2 separate regions of the Homo sapiens genome follow, and region 1 is linked to region 2. Evidence: promoter capture Hi-C in human tissues and cell types (Jung and others, 2019). All regions are on one chromosome and are shown on one strand. Each heading gives the region's core, a stretch centred on a gene start or on the middle of the fragment in contact. The rest is flanking DNA. Distances are from core to core; before and after follow the strand shown.

Region 1 (6,532 bases), core at 3,656-6,155, 620 kb before region 2:
GGAGTTCAAAATCAGCCTGACCAACATGGTGAAACCTTGTCTTTACTAAAAATACAAAAAAAATTAGCCGCGTGTGGCGGCGCACACCTGTAATCCTAGCTACTCGAGAGGCTGAGGCAGGAGAATCACTTGAACCTGGGAGATGGAGGTTGAAGCGAGCCAAGATTGCACCACTGCACTCTAGCCTAGGTGAAGAGCAAGAATCCGTCTCAGGGTGGGGTGGGGGGTGGGGAAGAATAATTAGAAGAAACAGTCTACCCAAATGAGAAGGAACTGAAAAATAATTCTGGCAATATGACAAAACAAGGTTCTATAATACCCCCCAAAAATTGCACTAGCTCTCCAAAAATGGATGCAAACCAAGAGGAAATCTTTGAAATACTAGATAAAGAATTTAAAAAGCTGATGATTAAGGTATTCAAGGAGATATAAGAGAAAGGTGACAACCAGCATAAAGAAATTTTAAAAAATTCCGAATATGAATGAAAAATTTTCTAAAGAGATATATATCTTAAAGAAAAAACAATCCAAACTTCTGGAAATGAAAAACACATTTAGGGAATTACTAAAGGCAGTAGAAAGTTTTAAGAATACACTAGGACAAGTAGAAGAAAGAATCTCAAAACTTGAAGACAAGGCTTTTGAATTAACCTAATCAGACAAAGATAAAGAGAAAAGAGTTAAAAGAAATGAACAAAGTCTCCAAGAAATATTGGATTATGTAAATTGGCCAAACCAAAGAATCATTGATGTTCCCAAGGGAGAAGAGAGAGAAAAAAATTTGGAAAACTTATTTGAGGGAAGAATTGAGGAAAATTTATCTGGCCTTGCTGCAGATTTAGATATCCAAATACAAGAAGCTTAGATAATTCCTAGGAGATTCACTGCAAAAAGGATATCACCAAGGCATACAGTCATTAGGCTATCTAAAGTCAATGTGAAGGAAAGAGTTCTAAGGGCAGTGAGATAAAAGTGTCAGATAACCTATAAAGGAAAACCTATCAGACTAACAGCAGACTTCTCAGGAGAAACCTTACAGGCCAGAAGGGACTGGGGTCCTATCTTTAACCTTCTTAAACAGAATAACTATCATCCAAGAATTTTATGTCCAGCAAAACCAAGTTTCATAAATTAAAGAGAAATAAAGTCTTTTTTAGACAAACATATGCTGAGTGAATTTGTCACTACCAGACCATCCTAAAAGAAATGCTAAATAGAATTCTAAATCTTGAAACAAAATGTAGAACCTCTTGAAAGCATGCAACTCACAGGGCTTATAAGAAATAACACAATGAAGAAAACAAAATGTCTAGGTAACAATCAGCATGATGACTGGAACAGTACCTCGCATCTCAATATTAGCATTGAACATAAGTGGTCTAAACGCTACACTTAAAAGGTACAGATTGGCAGAATAGATAGAAAATCACAAACCAAATATCTGCTGTCTTCAAGAAACTCAGTCAACACAGAAGGATTCTTATAAACTCAAGGTAAAGGGATGGAAAAAGATATTCCACACAAATGGAAACAAAAGCAAGCAAGAGAAGCTATTCTTATATCAGGTAAAATAGACTTAGCCTGGACAACATGGTGAGACCCCATCTCTACTAAAAATACAAAAATTCAGCGGGGTGCAGTGGCATCCACATGTAGTCCCAGCTACTTAGGAGGCTGAGACAGGAGAATTGCTTGAACATGGGAGGTGGAGGTTGCAGTGAGCTGAGATTGTACCATTGTACTCCAGCCTGGGTGACAAAGCAAGAGCTTGTCTCAAAAAAAAAAAAAAAAAAAAGACTTTAAAGCAACAACAATAAGAAAAGACAAAGAAAGCCATCGTATAATGATAACAGGATCAATGCAACAAGAAGAAATTACAATCCTAAATATATATGCACCTAACTCTGGAGCTCCCAGATTCATAAAATAATTACTACTGGACATAAGAAAGAGATAGACAGCAACATGACAATAGTGGGAGACTTCAACACTCCACTGACAGCACTAGACAGATCATCAAGGAAGAAAGTCAACAAAGAAACATTGGACTTAAACTACACTTTTGAACAAATGAACCTAACGTATATTTATGACAGTCTACCCAAGAGCTGAAGAATATACATTCTTCTCATCAGCACAAGGAACATTCTCCAAGATAGATCATATAATAGACCACACAACAAGTCTCAATAAATTTAAAAAATTGAAATCATATCAAGTATCTTCTCAAACCACAGTGGAATAAAACTAAAAATGAACTCCAAAAGGAACCCTCAAAACTTTACAAATATATGGAAATTAAGCAATCTAATCCTGAATGACTTTTGGGTTAACAATGGAATCAAGATGGAAATCTTTGAAATGAACGATAATAGTGACACAAGTTAACAAAACCTTTGAGATATAGCAAAAGCAGTGCTAAGAGGAAAGTCTATAGTGCCAAATGCCTACATAAAAAAGTCTGAAAGATCACAAATTCATACTTCAAGGAACTAGAGAAACAAGAAAAAACCAAACCCAAAGCTAGCAGAAGAAAATAAATAACAAAGATCAAAGTAAAACTAAATGAAATTGAAAGAAAAATACAAAAGATCAATGAAACAAAAAGTTGATTATTTGAAAAGATGAATGAAATCAATAGACCATTAGCTAGATTAAACAAGAAGAAAGGATTTAAGTAAGCTAAATCAGAAATAAAATTGGAGACATTACCACCAACACCACAGATATATAAAAGATAATTTGAGACTACTATGAACACCTCTATGCACACAAACTAGAAATTCTAGAGAAAATAGATACATTCCTGGAAACATAAAACCCTCCTAGATTGAATCAGGAATAAATAGGAACATTAAACAGAACAATAACAAGCAATATGATTGATCAGTAATAAAAAAATTGCCAAAAACAACAAAAAAGCCCAGGCCAAATGAATTCACAGCTGAATTCTACCAGACATTCAAAGAAGAACTGGTACTAACTCTGCTGAAACTATTCCAAAAGATTGATAAAGAAGGAATCTTTCCTAACTCACTAATGAAGCCAATGTCACCATAATACCAAATCCAGGACAGGACATAACAAAAAAAGAAAACTAAAGACCAATATCCCTGATACAAACAGATGCAAAAATGCTCAACAAAATACTAGCAAACTGCATCCAACAGCACATCAAAAAGATGATACACCATGATCAAATGAGTTTCACTAGGGGATCCAAGGATAATTTAACCTATGCAAGTAAACAGATGTGATACATCACATAAACAGAATTAAAACAAAAACCACATGATCATCTCAATAGATGAAGAAAAAGCATTTGATAAAATCCAGTATTGCTTTATAACAAAAACCCTTAACAAACTAACCATAGAAGGAACATACATCAAAATAATAAAAGCCGTCTATGACAAACTCACAGGCAACATTATACTGAATGGAGAAAAGTTCAAAGCATTCCTCCTGAGAAGTGGAACATGACAAGGATGCCTACCTTCACCACTTCTATTCAACACAGTACTGGAAGTCCTAGCCAGAGCAATCAGGCAAGAGAAATAAATAAAGGGCAAACAAACTGGAAAAGAGGACGTCAAACTACTACTGCGGATGATGTGATCATATATCTAGAAAACCCTAAAGACTCATCATTTTTCTCAGAATTAGAAAAAACCATCCTAAAATGCATATGAAACCAATAAAGAACTTGAATAACCAAAACAATCCTAAGCAAAAATAATAAATATGGAGGCAGCACATTACCCAACTTCAAATTATACCAAAAGGCTATAGTAACCAAAACAGCATGGTATTGGTATAAAAGTCGATACATAGACCAATGGAACAGAATAGAGAACCAATTAATAAAGACAAATACTTACAACCAACTGGTCTTTGAGAAGCACACAAAAACATACATTGAGGAAAGGACATCCTATTCAATAAATGATGCTGGGAAAATGGATAGCCTCACGTAGAAGAACAAAACTGGATCCCTATCTCTCACCATATACAAAAATCAACTCAGGATGGATAAAATACTTAAATCTAAGACCTGAAACCATAAAAATTCTAGAAGAAAACATAGAGAGAACTCTTCTAGACATGGGGCTAGGCAAAAAATTTATGACTAAGACCCCAAAAGCAAATGCAACAAAACAAAAATAAATGGGACTTAGTGAAACTAAAAAGTTTCTGAACAATGAAGGAAATAATCATCAGGGTAAACACATAACCGAAAGAACGGAAGAAAATATCTGCAAACTGTGCCTCTGACAAAGGACTAATATTCAGACTCTACAAGGAACTCAAACAAATCAGCAAGAAAAGAACCAATAGTCTCATCAGAAAGCAGGCAAATGACATGAATAAACATCTCTCAAAAGAAGATATAAAAATGGCCAACAAAAGTATAAGAAAAATGCTGAATATCACTAATCATCAAGGAAATGAAAATTAAAACCACAATGAGATACTATCCTACCCCAGCCAGAATGGCCATTATTAAAAGGGGAAAAAACTATAGATATTGGCACAGATATGGTGAAAAGGGAATGTTGTATTCTATTGATGGGAATGTAAATCAGTACAACCTCTGTGGAAAACAGTATGGAGATTTCTTTTTTATTTTTTTTTTTGAGACGAAGTGTCACTCTGTTGCCCAAGCTGGAGTGCAGTGGCGTGATCTTGGCTCACTGCAACCTCCACCTCCCAGGTTCAAGCGATTCTCTTGCCTCAGCCTCCCAAGTAGCTGGGACTACAGGCACATACCACCATGCCTGGCTAATTTTTGTATTTTTTTGTGTTTTTTAGTAGAGACGGGGTTTCACTATGTTGGCCAAGCTGGTCTCAAACTCCTGACCTCATGATCTGCCCGCCTTGGCCTCCCAAAGTACTGGGATTACAGGCATGAGCCACCATGCCTGGGCAGAGATTTCTTAAATAACTAAAAGTAGACCTACCATTTGATTCAACAATCCCCCTACTGGGTATCTACCCAAAGGAAAAGAAGTCATCATATACAAAAGACACTTGCATGTATATGTTTATCAAAGCACAATTCACATTTGCAAAGGTATGGAATCAGCCTAAGTACCCATTAAGTGATGATGAGTGGATAAAGAAAATGTGGTATACATATATACATATATGCCACGTAAAAGAATGAACTAATGTCTTTTGCAGCAAATTGGATAGAGCTGGAGGCCATTATTTTAAGTGAAGTAATTCAAGAATGGAAAGTCAAATACTGTATGTTCTCACTTATAAGTGGGAGCTATGCTACGGATACACAAAGACATACAGAGAGGCATAATGGACATTGGAGACTCAGAAGTGGGGAGCATGGGAGGGGGGTGAGGAATAAAAAAATACCTATAGGGTGTGATGTATACCATGCAGGTGGCAGGTAAACTAAAAGCCCTTACTTCACCACTATACCATTTATCCATGTAACTAATAACCAACCACATGTGCCAAAAGCTATTGAAAGGAAAAAATAAATACATATAATGTTTTAAAAAGATAGGCCCGATAGTGTTTATAGAAGTGTATATCATGATCTATACTCACAGAATCCACAAGCTCACTGGAAAAAGAACTCCAGAAGATATAAAAAAGAAAAGTGACTTTGGATATTTGATAAATTCTTGTATTACATTTTTTTCACAGTTTCCTATCACTTAATTTAGAAACCATCTTACTATCAATTTAACTTACAAGGTATGGTGTTTGCTTTGTAGTGTGATATAAAGTAATGCTGTATTTTAATCCATATAGTTTTGGGGTTGTTCATGGAATATGCCATTAAAGATTAAGTTATTTGCTACAGCAAAAAGAAGAGATAACAGAGAGCTTCCTTGCTCCTTACCACTTCCCCCTGTTTACATGCACACAAAAAAAAGTCCATTTGAATACATGGAGAGATGATGGCTGTCTATAAGCTAAGAGAAGAGGTGTCAGAATAAAACCTACCTTGACAGCACCTTGATCTTGGACATTACAGCCTCCAGAACTCAGGTAAATAACTTCCTGTTGCTTAAGCCACCAAGACTATGGTATTTTATTATAGCAGACTGAGCAGGCTAATACTTCCTCTCCCCAGTCTGCTCAGTTTAGATATATCATAATTTTAGGTTAAATCAACATTCTGTGTTATTATGCTACTGTAAATACTGCTTACCTGTCACCTTTTAATGTATTGTATTTCTTCTCTAATGGAATTTTTATTAGTAGAGTTAAAAATTGCCTCAGTTTTTGTTTGGCAAGTTTTCTAGGAACCTGTTACTAATTCATCTCCAAACTCCCACGGAGTATAACTCTCCATTCAATATTTTCAAATATATCAGATAAGCTGATTAAGTCCATCTCTTTGTTAGAGGCATACCTCCCAAGACTTCCCCTTGCCTTGGTCCCACATATCCCGGTTGCTTCCTAGGCCTGTCGCCCTATAATTTCCCTTTGTCATCCATTCTTTTTTCCTCACTACTGTCTTAGATCTCATTTCCTGAATCTCTTGGTTTATTCCTTCAAT
Region 2 (6,729 bases), core at 3,824-6,323:
CATTTTTAATAAGCTAAAGTCTTTCTAGTATGCACTTAGTGTTTTGTTGCAGTGTTCCTGAAAGCAAACAACGTTTGCCTGATTATAGTTAACATTATATTCACTGGGAGACCATAAACTTAATTTAATATATGACTGCTATCCTCCTCCTAATTTCTAGGTATGGTCTTTCCAACACACTATAAAGTGAAATTAGACATCTTAGGAAAGTAATGACAGAAAGATCAGAGGATTTAGTTCATCGTATTTCTTACTCATAGGTAAGCCAAAACCAAAGACAGGTCCCTACATCTTTCACTTAAGGCAATCTTCACAATAAGACAGATGAAACTCACATCTAAGTAAACTGACCCATAACTGGACCCATTGGTAGGTAATATTTTAAGAAAAATAGAACATGATGTGTCCCATTTTAACTGTACAATTATGTGCGGTTGGCCCTTGGACAACACGGGTTTGAACTGCATAGGTCCACTTACACTGGGATTTTCTTCCTCCTCTGCCACCCTGAACAGCAAGACCAACACTTCCTGTATTTCCTCCTCCTCCTCCTCCTCAGCCTACTTGATGTGAAGAGAAGGATGAAGACCTCTGTGATGAGCCATCTCCACTTAATGACTAGAAAATATTATGATTTTCATAATAGCATTTTCTTTTCTCTAGCTTATTGTAGTACAGCATATATTAACAATATATATAACATACAAAATATGTGTTCATCAACTGTGTTATGGCCGAGGCTTCCAGTCAACAGTTATAGGCTATTAGTAGTTAACTTCCGGGGAAGTCAACAGTTATAGGCTATTAGTAGTTAACTTCTGGGGAAGTCAAAAGTTATACATGGATTTTCAACTGCACAGGGGTGCAGCACCCCTAAACCCATGTTGTTCAAGGGTGAGCTTTCTTCCTGCATTTAGCTTAGTTTATCACAGGCTAAGCCAGAACCCACGGTAGAACCAGAATGTATGTGCTTATCTTACTTTCATCTGTCTTAACATTATAAGGGGTTAAGAGTAGATCTCATTGTAGAGAAACTACTCTACCATCCTCTTCGTAGCATCAATGCCAGGGTCGTTGTACTGACAATATTTAGAGGATTCAAAATAGCACACTTTTAAAGGTTTTCTCTGTCTCTACTGCTAAATAAAAGTCTCTTTCTCAGGGAACACAAATACACACACATGCATACTCAAACAAGCACACAATTTTGCTAAAATCTAGCTTGAGGTTTTGCTCTTCTGTTTCAAAATAAGTCTCTTAATACACTACCTATGAAATTTGTAAGCTTTGGCTCTCAGCATTAAGTAATAACTGGTCCTGAACCTATCAATCAATACACGAGTGAACACAAATTTCTAAAACCCACATTAAAAGTTGGCTTTATTCTTCACTGGCCAAGTATGTAATATAAATTGCTTCATTCTGAGATTCTTGGGCTCCCTGGGCTCCCCTCCTACTCCTACCCCACATCTCCCACCATTCAAATTTTAAAACACTGTTGCCACTAGAGAAGGTGACTTTTTAAAAAGAAGAAAAAAAAAGTAATTTTACCCCGAGTCAACTCTAGCCCTGCAGAAATACTGACCAGGTCTGACAAATGAAGTTGGGCTGCATATAAAAGGAACTACATCAGATCAAATGGCGATGTAAGAATAAGACACTAGCTATAAAGCACCCATCACAGATTATGCTAAAAACACAAAGATTTTCTGAAATCTTTGCTCCTACAGACTCCAATCCCAGCATATACATCCCCAAGTACACCCCTGTGCCGCATCAAAAAATTTTTTAAATTGACCCTTCTTGGATGATACAGAAACTTATCATAAGATTTCCCTCAAAATAAAAGGGCTATTAATTATTTTGGATAAAGAATACAAGATAGTGGTAAACTACAGAAAAATCCTGAAATAATGGCCCCATCCACAATTTTTTATATATTTTTTAAAAGTCTATCATGACCCATACCACATTTTTTTAAATGTCCTCTCATCCACATAAAAATGAATTAGCTTAAAATACATTTTTTAAAAATCTAAATCACCTGCCCCTAGCTTACAGAACTGGAAAATGAGTCATTTTCAAGGTAAACCCATCAAAACTTACTGGAAACGACATCGAAGTGTCTAAAAATCTATAATGCCAAAAGACAAATTCTTTCCATAGAAGGAATATTCCCCAAGTTTAAACTGACTGAGCTTTAGGTGCTCAGCCACAAATACTAAAAGCCAAGTATGTGAGAGGTGCTCATGGGACAAAAGCAAAGCCAGTATTGTAACCACAAAATGCACCATAGCGGGGTAAGCTCTATGACAGGTGAGGAATACAATGCAATGGTAAGATAGCCTAGGGGCAACCACCACAGATTTAGGTGGTCAGGGAAACCTCCCAGGAGCAGTATCAGAGTGAGAATCAAAATATGCTATTAATACAAGCAATATAAAGGAGACCAGCAGTAATAAGGTTGGGTTTGCATTTCAGAAGCCTCACCCCCAGAGTAGCATGAAGAATGCAGAGAAAGTCCTATTCTAAGAGCAAGAGACCAGAGAGAAGGCTGATGTAGTAATCTCAGATGGAGCTCGGCCTAGGGAAGCAGTGATTAGGCTAGAGAAGGTCCTTGGAAGTAAACTTGTACAGATGTTTTGCAACATCTACAAATGGCCAACCTTATCCTAAGCTAAAATAGCCACTGTTTTTCAAGTGATTTTAAAAACAAAAACATACTTAATTTCACATTTAGACCTAATTTTAACTGTCCCATGATTATTTTTAAATAGTCATGACTACGTTTTAGAAACTCTTTTGCCAATACTAATTAAAGTCAAATATTCATGTTGGATATAATCTCATCACTCATCTTTCTTCCAGTATGCTACATTTATTCTGATGAAAAGAGTAGAGAAAAAATGGAAACAAAGAAAAGAAGAACTGTTTGTTCTTCTTGTGTCTTTGGATTTGCCACAAAACCCTAAAGTACAAAAGTGTCCTTTAAAGCCTTTATTCAAGATTAACAAAAGAAATTTATTCCTTCAGGTTTAGAGCTTTGTTCTCCCAGTTTAAGATAAATGCCACACGGGCAGCCACTGACACCCAAGAATTCAAGTTCTTTAAATTTATCTTTCTCGGTTTTTGCTATATTAAAGTGAAAGCATTTTCTTGGCCACATGATGCATGACCAGAACCTTAATATTCACTTCCTGGCACTAAATCCCCAAGGGAGGAAGGGAGCAAAGTAAACTAAACTATAACAATCCTCATACTGGCTGGGCACTGTGGCTCACGCCTGTAATCCCAGCACTTTGGAAGGCCGAGACGGGCGGATCATGAGGTCAAGATATCGAGACCAGCCTGGCCAACATGATGAAACCCCGTCTCTACTAAAAATACAAAAATTAGCTGGGCGTGGTGGCGCGCACCTGTAGTACCAGCTACTCGGGAGGCTGAGGCAGGAGAATCGCTTGAACCCAAGAAGCAGAGTTTGCAGTGAGCGGAGATCACACCACTGCACTCCAGCCTGGGCAACAGGAGACTCTGTCTCAAAGAAATGAAAATAAAAATAAAAATAAATAAATAATCCTTATATACCATCACCGCCACCATTCCAAACTTCCCAAAAATGCCACTGCCGAGTGCCAACAGAAAACTGAATTTCACTCTCGACCAAGTATAATGGGAGGAAGCGAAGGTCAATCTATGACCAGAGCAGCAGTGCGTTATCTGTAGCCCATATCACTACTTTCGTAAGACTTAAAACCATCTGCTATGTTACGTATTTATTCATTTATTTGTTTACGTCTTTCTTTAGTAAAATGTAAGCTCCATGAAGGCAGTCTTTGTCTTGTTGACTGTTGCAAATTACCTGCACCTAGAGCAACGCACAGCACCTAGTAGGTGGTCAATAAATATCTATTAAACAATTGAGTAAAACAGACTAAAAAAATCGAGAATTAACTTTCAAAAACCTCATGTCACTCTTGTTGAAACATCTCTGATAAACCCATCTTGTCTGGAGGATAAAGTCCAACAAAACAAAGCACACAAGCACCTTCAAAATCTGGCCCTGACCACTTTTCCAGGCTCATCTGCTACCAGCCCCGCGCACTCAAAAAACTTCAACTCCAAACATGTCAGTCCAAACTCTGGTGATACAGTCACTTGCTACTCATGAGACATGTTCTTTCACTCATCCAAGCTTTGTAAAATGACTTTCCCTCCCCCTGGAAAAATCTTTATTCCCTCTTATTTAACTCTTATTCGTCCTCCAAGGCCCAATTTAAGTGCCTGCCTTAAAAATCCTTCCAACTCTCCCAGGATAATTTCTCCCTCCCTCTGCTCTCACATATACTACAATGCAGGTGTGTATGAGCTGCTATCATCCTGTATCGTATTCATTTGTTTCCCATCCCTTTCCCACCATCCTGAAATTCCGGAGGTCAAGGACCGTGTTTAAAATCTCTATCGCAGGTGCCTGGCTGAATGTATCCTGCGGGCAAAGGCGCCAGTCGAGTCCTGTGGACACCATGCCATCCCATTTAGCGATCGCCCCGTCCTGGCCCTGTGGCCCCACAGCCGTCCCCTCCTCGCCCTGGGCTGAAGGTCCGTCTCCCCAAGACCACGGAGGAGTAAAGGAAGGGAGTCAGCCGGCAGCAGCCCGCTCGGGCCCCGCGAGCGAGGCAAGCAGGTGACCGCTGGGCGGGCCGAATCCGTCAGGGGCCCGGTCCCAGGTTCCGGCCGTACCTGTCTCACGTTGGCCGGCAACTTGTTCCAGGGGTAGTTGTGCCGGATGTGGAACTCCACGTCTATGTTCATGATGCCGCGGCCAGGGCCGGCGGCCGGGGCCGCCACCGCGACCCACACTACGCCTCCCGCCTGCCCGCCCGCAGCCTGTCAGCGGAGCGACGCGGGAGGCCCCGCGCCTCACACTGCAGAAGGCCCAGGCTGCCCCATGGCCTAGGCTCCCGACAGTTCAGCGCCGCCCGGGCCAACCGAGTACAAGAGCAGCAGCGATTGGAGGCTGGATCGCCTGAACAGCTCCAAGTTTCTTCCTAGTTTCGGGCCGCCGGAAATGGCTCTGGGCACACGTCACTTCCGCCCGCTGGCGCGCGGCCGGAGGGGCGGGGCACGGACTGGCCTCTAGCCACGCCCTCTACAGGCTGCGGGGCGGGGCGACGACGAGGTACCGGGAGGTGCCCGGGTGAGCGTTCCCCGCCCGCGCGCTTCGTCTCCCCGTTTCAGTCTCTGAATGAACGGCGATAGTCGCTTGGGTCTGCGTTGCCGTTGCTGATGACCCAGTTTACTCAAATTGTAAAGCCGGAGGCACTGGGGTCGGTTTTCAGAGAAAAGCGACCTGGGAAGCGGGCCGGCAGTGGCTGGCTTTACATTGGAGTGCGGTGCGCTCGCGGGGGTTCTCCACAGGCCAGCCCGGAACCCGGGCCAGTGAGACGGGGCGGGGGGTTGCGGGGACGGGTCCAGGGCCCTGGAGAAAGAAATAATCTCTAAGTCAGGTCTCGCACCGGGTTGAGCGAGAAGCATGGGCAGTGGGAGAGCAAAGGTCTGGTAAGCCCTCTTCCCTTCCGCGGTGTGCTGCACGTCATTGGGCTCCACTTCCCAAGAAGATCCAAATTCTTACAATGCAGGGATTCAGGGAGCTGAAATTTTAAACAGTGGTGCTGACAGGTCGAGGCAGCCTACAGGGCTGACAGAGAGATACCCTTGCCAACTTTGTCATGCAGCCTGTCGGTTTCTGCTTTATTCTGCTCCACACAAATGCCTCCAGAGTCACTTAAAAGCAAAAATCCAGCATGTCTTAATTTCAGATTGAGTGATAAGGTCTTTGGGAATAATTTCTTTCAGAAGTTGTTACGCTGCCTTAGCAAACCCGTGACCATTATTCCTGGCAGCAACCAGAGACAAGTTCAGTGTTATTGCAACTGTTTTTCAGTTTTTAACAATGGTTTTAAATAATGTTTTATTATATACTGGGAGATGTATACTTAGAACTTTTTATAAGATACCTAGCTCACACCTCAACAGCTGGCAAGTCTGATGCTTAGCAGAAACCCCATTATGTCTGATGAAATAAAGGTGACAAGTACACACTGCCCTTGCTTAGATGTTTTGGTCTCCTATTATCCAACTATAATAACCCAAAGATAAGTGCTTTGAACCTTATGTTTACAGATCCTCATCAGCATAGCTAAGGTTAACTGAACTCTAACCGTGAGACATTTATTCAACAAATATTGATTACCTGCCCGCCATGTATTAAGGCCTTGACTTGACAATAGATTATTCCTCACAACCCTGATATTCCTACAACAGTAACCACTTACTATCCCAGTTTGATAGAGGAGGAGACTGAGGCTTGGCAGGGCTTCATGACTTGCTCGCAAGATCACACAGGTAGCACTGACAGAGCCAAACTGGAGCCGAAGGCTATCCTCACTCCAGAGCCATCCTTTCAGTTCCCCAACTCAGGCTCTCACTCACTGAACTCTTCTACCTCCTGTTCCAATTTAGACAATGTTCATTCAAAGTCAACGACATAAACATCCTCTAAAATAATGCTTTACAGTTCTAAGTGTGGAAGAACCCATATTCTTCCAAAGTCTAACTTAGATCTAATGCAATATAAGTAACAATGAAAATTAAAGTCAATTTAGCTTAAAAAAATCCCTGTAAACTATTATTTTAGCTAATGATAGCAGTTCAGCAGGTGAATGCCTGATA

What was found. Contacts are between HindIII fragments. The study calls those that stand out against the background at their distance.
Region 1: a fragment that was not itself captured here is called in contact with the fragment with the promoter of FAM91A1 in region 2 in 1 of the 25 tissues and cell types used here (hippocampus).

What each region holds. Positions count from the first base shown.
Region 1 is chr8:124,387,375-124,393,906 of GRCh38, reverse strand. No RefSeq gene overlaps it. Among named protein-coding and RNA genes, the nearest start is that of TMEM65, 18 kb to the right of the region's middle. The HindIII fragment of the contact is 9,306 bases long and covers 253-6,532 here.
Region 2 is chr8:123,766,783-123,773,511 of GRCh38, reverse strand. It overlaps FAM91A1 (family with sequence similarity 91 member A1), which reads right to left and starts at 5,073. Exons shown (of 24, transcript NM_144963.4): 1 at 4,738-5,073. The coding sequence starts at 4,809. RefSeq lists silencers at 3,120-3,169, 4,738-4,887. The HindIII fragment of the contact is 9,142 bases long and covers 2,740-6,729 here.